2 separate regions of the Homo sapiens genome follow, and region 1 is linked to region 2. Evidence: promoter capture Hi-C in 16 types of primary human blood cells and fetal thymus (Javierre and others, 2016). All regions are on one chromosome and are shown on one strand. Each heading gives the region's core, a stretch centred on a gene start or on the middle of the fragment in contact. The rest is flanking DNA. Distances are from core to core; before and after follow the strand shown.

Region 1 (4,310 bases), core at 353-2,852, 210 kb before region 2:
GCCTGGTCCTCTGGGTGCACGTCCACCAGGGTACACCAGTTCCGCGTCCCGTTCATCTTCCCTCGGGGTCGCAGCACACACGCCACTTGTCCACCCCGCTGTCTGGCTCCAACTGGGCGGGCGCGCGCGGAACCGCCCCCTTGTATAGGCCCATCAGGGGCGGGGCTGAAGATAGGCCGCGCCCCCAGTTCGCGGTTTCGCAGAGAACTAACGATAGGCGAGGAGGTGAGGTGGGCGGAGCCAATGGGTCTGGGACATGCCCCATCGGTGCTCGCATAGATTTACACAAAGGTGGGGCTTGGGAGCGACATGGGGCTGCTTTAACTGAACAGCTTTATCTGGAGTATGTGGTTGCACATTCTTCATTAATCTTGTCGCTTTCCATCTTTCCAAGATCAGTGTTGGTCAGAGGGAATCACCCTGCCTGCTCCTAGTGGATGAGGAGTTGGAACCTGCAAAAGCTTCCTTCCATACATGCTCCTCTCCCTATACGTAAGCCACCTGTAGGCTTTGTGGAGCTGAGTAAACCTTTCCTCCACCGCAGAAAGGCAGGCACCAAGGTCCAGCTCACTCAGACTGGCCTAAGCCAGTCTGGCAGGTGCACTTCCTTGGCAAGAGGCCCAGGAGGCCCAGTCAGCTTAGGCTCTGGGTGGGGCTTGTTTTGCAGAAGCTCTTTTACTGACGCTGCCCTTATATAGTTGGGAGAGGCGGGACACATTGCCTTAAAAGGAATTTGTGTTCGTGAGAAAGGATGAGCCTTGACTTTTCCAGTTGCATTTTCTCCCCAAGCCTAGGCTGGGATCTTGAGGGCCTAGAAGAGAGGGTTGGCCAAGCAGGACCCTGGAGCTTCGTCCCCGCCCAGCTGCTCTTGGCAGATGGCTTCTTCACTTGGCTGTGGTCCACAGAGACAGCAGACAGAATACTTTAGGAGGAGGTCTGACCCACTCCTGAAGGGATAGTACTCCTATACCTGGCAATAGGCTCTAGTGAAGGGCCAGCTCCCTCTTCAAGGCAACACTAGGGCAGGAACAGCAGAAATGTCCCTACCTCCCAGTTAGGGACTGGGTCCTATGTCAGTTAGGAATGAATGAGGATTTTTCTACCTGGGAAGTGAATGCTGGGGTTATCACTATGACCCAAGGGAATAAAACCCAGTTCTGGTCTGTTCTACTCTAACCCTCAAAAAGGCATTTACTGCTGGCCAGGCGCAGTGGCTTATGCCTGTAATCCCACCACTTTGGGAGGCCGAGGTGGGCGGATCACAAGGTCAGGAGTTTGAGACCAGCCTGACCAACACAGTGAAACGCCATCTCTACTAAAAATACAAAAATTAGCTGGGTGTGGAGGCACGCGCCTGTAATCCCAGCTACTCAGGAGGCTGAGGCAGGAGAATCGCTTGAACCCGGGAGGCAGAGGTTGCAGTGAGCTGAGATCATGCCATTACACTCCAGCCTGGGTGACAGAGTGAGACTCCGTCTCAAAAAAAAAAAAAAAAAAAAGGCATTTACTGTCCTTGTTCTTCCCAGAAGGTTGTTCAGGAGAGAAGAGAATGGGGCTGCTATAAACATCTCCAGGTTTCGTAGGTCCCATCTGCTCTGTTCTAAAGGGCCTCTGAAAAGTCAGGTGAAGAAAACTCCAGCTTCGGCTCCTAAGCTGTACAGTTAATATGACTTCATAAAATCTGGACCTCCAAATATGCCAAGAAAAAGAATGAGAAGACAAACCAAGGATTTCAATATAAATGTGTAATTTTAATATTTAATTTAAAATAAAACCAAGGCTGGATTGGATTGGGAAAGAACGTTTGATTTGCAGAAGAATATAGGAATTTTTTTAATCACGACATTACAAGTCATTTGTGAAAACAGCCTTCCTCCTGCCACCGGCTCCCTATACAACCTGCTTAGGAAATATGGAGGTGAATCATCCCCCTTACCTCTTCCCTACCAGGGCTTGGTTCTCCCCAAAATCCAAAGGAGAAATAAATGTCTTCCGTTGCCTCTTCCCATTTTTACAGTCAGCTTCTAACCCCTTGCAAAGCCCTGAATCAGAGCCAAGCACCTCAGAAAATGAGGGTCCCTTGGTTCTCTTATTGAAGTTGGGCACATGTGGTCAGAGAAGCCCCAAGGAAGGCCACAGGGACTGACACCTTTACTTTTGGAATTTGTGCAGCCAGTTGTCAGGGCTCCCAGGTGCAACCACCTTATAACCATATCCACAGTCACAGAGGAGGGAGAGGAGGAAGGATGAAAACCCTGAGCAGGACCAGACCCCCGCCACTTTATCATGACCCTACCAAAGTCCCTCTCCCAGGGGTCATTGGCAGAGAAACCCCAACAGCTCTCTCAATCAATCACTGGGGCAGCAGGGAAGGCTGAGGGCCCTGGCTGGGGAAAAGCTGGTCTTTGGAGAGGTATGAATGTGCAGATATAAAAAGCAAGAAGAGCATCCTTATCTCCTTGCCTTGGCTAAGGCACTGACAGGAAAAATGCAAGGTAGGAATGGCAAAGAGGGGAAAGGAAGAAGACAAAAATATAGGAACTGGAGGGGTATGGGGACTACCACATGGGCCCCATACTTGTGCAAAGAAATGGGTAGAGCCATGCCTGCATGTCTGTTACCCATAACATTCCCCTCACCCTGCTCCAGAGTGGAAGGAAAATGAGTTGCAGGAATCCAGGGAGCACAATAACATAGGGTATTTCCCTGAGCCTTAGGGTTAAGGGCTAAAGAATAAAGCTTTATACACATGGCAATTTCTATCCCTTCCTATCCTTCTCAGTCCCCATCAGCCTAATGCTGACCATCCTTCCACTATAAGAGAGATGAGGGAGGTGTCGGCACTTGAGGAAAAGGCTCAGTTGGCTTGAAATGTCCACTCCTACAGTGGAAAGTCCATCTATCAGCTTATTGCTGATGATTTTTTTTTTTTATCACCATCACTCTGACCCCTCCCTGTCTTAGGTCTGAATAATTGGGTCACCCATAGGAATGCAGAACCCAGGGTGGGCAGAGCAGAGCAGCACTTGCTGGGATAGGCCTCGAGCCTGGTTTCTGAGTCCTTGAGGACCACGAGCTAACAGGAGCTGGTCTGTAGGTTGCTCTCCGTAAGCAGTGATGCAATGGACGAGGGATCGTAGACACTGTCGAATTCCTCATCTGAGCTCAGCCCTTCGTTTTTGAGAGCTGACTCAGCAGCTGAGCGGGAAGCTTTGCGCCTGACTCAGAGAGAAGAATAATGGTTGGGGAGGGGAAAATAGAAATATTAAGACAGCCACCCTTTTTGTACAAAGGAAACCCCAATTCTTCTAAGGCCTAAAGTTTATTCACAAAATCCCCAACTAATCAGATTTGGGGAGGTACAGGATGGTGGCTGAGATACTAATAAATAAATATACTGGCTTCCAACCAGAAACAAGTGACTACACAGTACCATGTTAGAGATTCTCCTCCTTATCCAGCACAGGAGAGACCATTCCCTCCCTGCTCTAGTGTCCCTATGGAGCAAGGGCAAAAGGGTAGCCCATACCAGGAGTCCTTCTCCAGAGACTTGATCCGGGCCTGGAGCTGTTCATTGACCTCATGCTGCTCCTCCACCTCACGCTGGGCCTTCTTCCTCAGGCCGTCCAGTCGCTCAATTTCCTCTTCTGCTTCATCCACCTGACGCTTCAAAGCCTTCACCCTCAGGCTTAGCTGGGCAGGATACCAAGTCCACACATCTGAATAGCATCTACTACCATGGCCTGGGACCCTCCCCCATAACAATCTTGACAAGGTATAATTGCCGCTGGAAAAATGTGGCCTTGGGCAAGTTCCTTAACCTCACATGGTTGTCTTAGGGATTAAATGTATTAACACATGTGTAATACTTACAGAACCTAGCACATCATAAGCACTCAATATATACGCTTACCATGACTTCTCTAGTCTAGTCTTTTCAATCTAATCTCTGTCCTTATACAAGGAAAGTCTAAGTTTGGAGGACCTATAGGAGATAAGGGCCTCCCTTGGCTTTCAGGAAAACATATAATATATACCTGCCCCAGGTTGCTTGGCTCCAGGGTGCCATGTCCTCACCTGGTCTTTCTGGTCATTGACATGCTGCCGCTCGTCTTCAATCTGGATGGATAGTTCTTTAACTTTCCGCTCCAGTTTTCGATTGGTAGACTGCAGAACTGTCTTCTCCCTAAGGTGAGGTAGAAGAATGTCTATGAGTGTCCCCATTTCTAAGGGAATCCTAACTTGGCCCCCTACTGTCCCCAAGGACTCCTCTCAGCCATGAGCTCCACCATTAGACTGGGCAGGATCCA
Region 2 (4,336 bases), core at 738-3,237:
TACTGTACTCCTGCTTTAACCTAGCTTGTCTGCTTGCCCTCTCCTCATGATATGAGCAAATTCCCATTTATATTCTTCAACATACAATTTTTTTGCTTTCAGAATGCTCGCTTGTCTTTTATTTTGCTGGGTTATATCCAATATCTATTCTAAGACCTGACTCACAATATTTCTAAGAAGCCTTCCATTCATTCATTCACCATATACTGGTGTGTGTGTGTGTGTGTGTGTGTGTGTGTGTGTGTGTATGTGTGTGTGTCCATACACATATAGGCCTTCCAAATTAACTTAAACTCCACTATGTCCCTTCAGCAATTAGGTTAGGTACCCCATTTGTTCTACTGTTGTATATACTGCATGTTTTACACAGGCATTTTCAAGCTATTACACTTTATTCTGCCTTCCAATTAAACATTGTAGCAGTGACTCTTTCATCATCTATCCTGTATGATTGTCCCAATAATTAATAATAAAGTACTATAGTAGCAACTTGTACTCTCTTGATCCTAACAAAACCCTGTAATGGGCTAATATTACTTCATCCATATGTCTTCTTTGTAGACATAGAAACTGAGGTTTAAAGAGGTTACATTAGTTATTCCAAATCAAACGGCTTGTAAGTGGCAGGGAAGATGGCATTCAAGACCCGGGCTCAAATAACTAGCCTCAATGTATTAAGTAAGGCACTAATGAGGGGCATTGCATATTAAGTAAAGCCCTAGGAAAGGCATTGAGATAGAGGTTCTGAGGACAAAGAGGGCTCTAAATCAACAATCTTAACCGAAAAATACACAAAAAACTTGCTGGGCGAGGTCGGGCCTATAATCCCAGCACTTTGGTACCTGAGGCCGGCAGATTGCTTGAGGCTAACAGTTCGAGACAAGCTTGGGCAACATAGCAAGACCCTGTCTTTACAAAACAAACAAACAAACGAAAAATACACAAAAGCAACACCAGAGGCCCATTTGCATGGCGTGTTTTTGTTTATTTGTTTGGCCTAATATGGTTTCGTTTTGTTTGGAAGAAGGGATTGTGCCCTCCAAGCCTTTGTCGTTTCACTCACCTCTCCCAACCTGGCCCTGTCCAGCCCCTCCCTGGAGGGCTGGGCATATGGATGCTGGAGGTCACAGGCTGCCCAGGCAGGTTGGTGACCTCGGAGGCAGAACCACGGCCTCGAGTCGGGCCTCTAACGGCGAAAAGACTGACGCGGTTGGACCGCGCCATTCCCGAAATGTTAAGGAGCTTAAACTCCGCATCGTCCTCCAAGATAAGTAGGAAAAGGGCAGTCAGAAAGAACGTCTTCCCCGTCCGCCGTCTTCCTGCGCGCCCTTCTAGGAACCCAGCGTCCATCCCACGGCCTGATTTACTAAGGGAGTCTTGTAGCATACGGGAGGGGGAAAAGTCATTGATTGCAATTACGGTAATTTGGTTAGTTACTCAAACGGTCGTTTACATATAACTTGCATGTTAATATACTTCTGGAAGTATGCATATGTCCATACTTCTTTAACAGGGCACCCACGGCCGCCTGCTCACCCTACTTATGCAGCAAATTTTACTTCTCTCTCGGCTTCTTTAGCCTCGCAAACGCTATCGCTTAGGTCCGCTTCTTAAATATTGGCCCCTCCTCCCACCCGTAAGCTCCTCCCTTCGCCCTCTCTCCCTCGAGAGCTTCCAAACATCTTTTCCCCGCCCCCTTTTCTATTTCTGAACAGGCATGTTCCAGGCAGCTCACCCGACTCCTTAGATTACTATGGAATCGGTAGGGTCCTGACCGCTGGGGAAGCAGGAAAGCGTATCCTGGGAAGAAAGGCTTGGCTTGGACTCCGGAGAAGAATACTACATCGAGACCTGCTGGGGAATTTTATTTTATTTTATTATTTTTTTGGTCTTGGTTGTACTGAGGGAGGAAGAAGAGGTTGTGTGGCCCGGTCGAACTTGTGGCAGCCTGAAGGCCCCCTCAGGCGGCGCCGCGGGCAGCCCCGCAGCCGGGGCCTGGTGCAGCCTCCGCGGCCGCTGTCAGGGAAGCGCAGGCGGCCAATGGAACCCGGGAGCGGTCGCTGCTGCTGAGGCGGCAGTGTCGGCAGTCCAACCGCGACTGCCCGCACCCCCTCCGCGGGGGTCCCCCAGAGGTAAGCTACTCCTCCTTCATGAGTCACCTTTGCCCTGTTGGGTGGGGGGGGGGGTCCCTCTCCCACCCTGTCCCGCACAGTCTTCCCCACCTGAGTTCGACTACGAAACTGCCCTCTTGGTGTCAGCTGCACCCCGGGTTCCTTCTCCACCCTTTCCTCTCAGGCCTGGGGTCCTCCTCCGCTTTTTGGCTTCCTCTTCTATTAGCTCCTCCCTCTGCCTCGGGGATTCCCCCCTCCCTCACTCATCCCTGTTGCCTACGTCTCGAATAATTCTTTTTTTTAAGTCATGAACCCTTTCCATATCAGACGACTCCCATAATGCCCATCCTTGTCCTTCCTCGTCGTCTCTGCCCCTGCCCCAAACCTTTTCCATGGACTCCACCTTTATCTCTTTTCCTAGTTTGCACTTTTCCTCCTATGTCCCTGTGCAACTCCAGCACTGGGTTCCCATTTCCCTGAGCTAAAGATTGCATCCCTGTCTTCCTGTGCTGCTTCTGATTCCATTACCTCACTGTCACCCACCTACCCAGCCAGCTCCTGGCTTCCAAGAATTGCCTGTTCCCTTCTCCTTAAGGGATCTCGGGCCCTTGTCATCAATCCAAAAGTACCATTTACATTCTTACTTTGAACCTAGTCCTCACTCTTCTCTGGGATGCATTATGATCCCTATAACTTTCTTTAGCTTCTCTTTCTCCCTCCTCAATCCCCCAACTTTCTAGAGGTTTCTGTCTGTAGGGGAGAGATTTGACAGTGCCCTTCCCATTCAGGATTTCCAACTTTGACACCTCCCTCGAGTTTCAGGGATTTCTCTGATCCTTGTGACATTTGTTCTGTTTTTCCCGTGGGCTTCATGTGTTCTCTGTTACACTCTTTATCTCCACATACCACTTATTTCAGGATCAACTAAACCTTGAACTAAGAAGAAAAATGTGTTGTGAGCAGGGGGAGCCTCAGCTGCCTCAGGCCGTTCAGGACAGAAGGGTGTTTCTGAAGGCCGGAGCAAGTTTTGAAGAAGTCCCTATCAGATTACACTTGGTTGACTACTCCGGAGCAGCCACTAAGAGGGATGAACAGGCCTGCGTGGAAATTGAATGAGATTGTGAGAAAACTTGTTTCAGATTATTTAATTTTAGGCTTTTGTTAAAGGAATCACAGAATAGAGTGCCTTCTCACCCCTGTCCAGATCCATGAGGAATCAGTTTATTCTTGTGGTTTACTAGAATAGTTTTGGTTGGTTCCATAAGAATTCAGGCCTGGAGTGGGGTAAGGGTATAACTGGAAAAAGGAACATGAGACAATGGAAAGAGCTTGTACATTCAGAATCGGGACTCCTGGGTTCAGCATGTGACTTCCTCACTTGACCTCTAGAGTGATCCTTTTGGAAAATGCCCACTCTCTGTAGGCATCAGTGCAGTAATAAGTTGGTAGCAGGATGTGGGTTGGGGGAAAAAATCAGATTTGGTTTATTTGTTTACAAAACATTTTGGGTTCCTCAGGCAAAAGGTATTTATTAGTAGTGGTTTAGTCATCCTGAGAATTTTCCTTCACCTTGGTCTTTCTGTCAGATGTTTCTAGTCCACAACCAGGGGTGTAAGTCATTTTGAAAGACAAGCTCCAGGCCTGCTTCCTTCATCTGCTTTGCTTTTTCCCCCAGTGCATTAAGTGGCTGATTTTCTGTCCTGTTCCTCACGTACTTGATCCATAACTCCAGATTCTATAGGTAGAAAGTATGTTTGTGGGAAAGCACTTTGAGGAAGCTGGCTGGAAAAGAGAACTTGGAGTGAACTGAGACTTAGGCAACTAGTTGCTGCCATGTCTCTCTCAGCCTGTGATAGCGAAAGGGCACGTGAGATTCCATTCATTTTCTGATTCTAGGTCTGTTTGGGAGTAGTTATGTCATCTTATCCCACTTCCTTTCTCTTCCTTGTCGTTAGTCATGGTGCAGTCTCCTCATAATTCCCCTTATTAGAAGCTTTCCTGCCAGGCGCGGTGGCTCACACCTGTAATCCCAGCATTTTGGGAGGCCGAGGCAGGCAGATCACCCGAGGTCAGGAGTTCAAGACCAGTCCGGCCAACATGGTGAAACCCCATCTCTACTAAAAATACAAAAAATTAGCCGGGCATGGTGGCGAGCTTCTGTAATCCCAGCTACTCCGGAGGCTGAAGCAGGAGAATTACTTGAACCCAGGAGGCGAAGGTTGCAG

What was found. The method cuts DNA at HindIII sites, captures the fragments that hold promoters and counts their contacts. A CHiCAGO score of 5 or more calls a contact.
Region 1: a fragment that was not itself captured here is called in contact with the fragment with the promoter of PI4KB in region 2 in 1 of 17 cell types (erythroblasts); the score reaches 6.4 in erythroblasts.

What each region holds. Positions count from the first base shown.
Region 1 is chr1:151,536,113-151,540,422 of GRCh38, reverse strand. CGN (cingulin) reads right to left here. Exons shown (of 21, transcript NM_020770.3): 19 at 4,078-4,186; 20 at 3,530-3,693; 21 at 1,731-3,218. The coding sequence ends at 3,077. It overlaps TUFT1 (tuftelin 1), which reads right to left and starts at 114. Exons shown (of 13, transcript NM_020127.3): 1 at 1-114. The coding sequence starts at 56. RefSeq lists enhancers at 1-337, 853-1,369. The HindIII fragment of the contact is 2,278 bases long and covers 464-2,741 here.
Region 2 is chr1:151,325,067-151,329,402 of GRCh38, reverse strand. It overlaps PI4KB (phosphatidylinositol 4-kinase beta), which reads left to right and starts at 1,987. Exons shown (of 12, transcript NM_001369623.2): 1 at 1,987-2,132. RefSeq lists a silencer at 1,550-1,619 and an enhancer at 1,555-2,479. The HindIII fragment of the contact is 3,220 bases long and covers 887-4,106 here.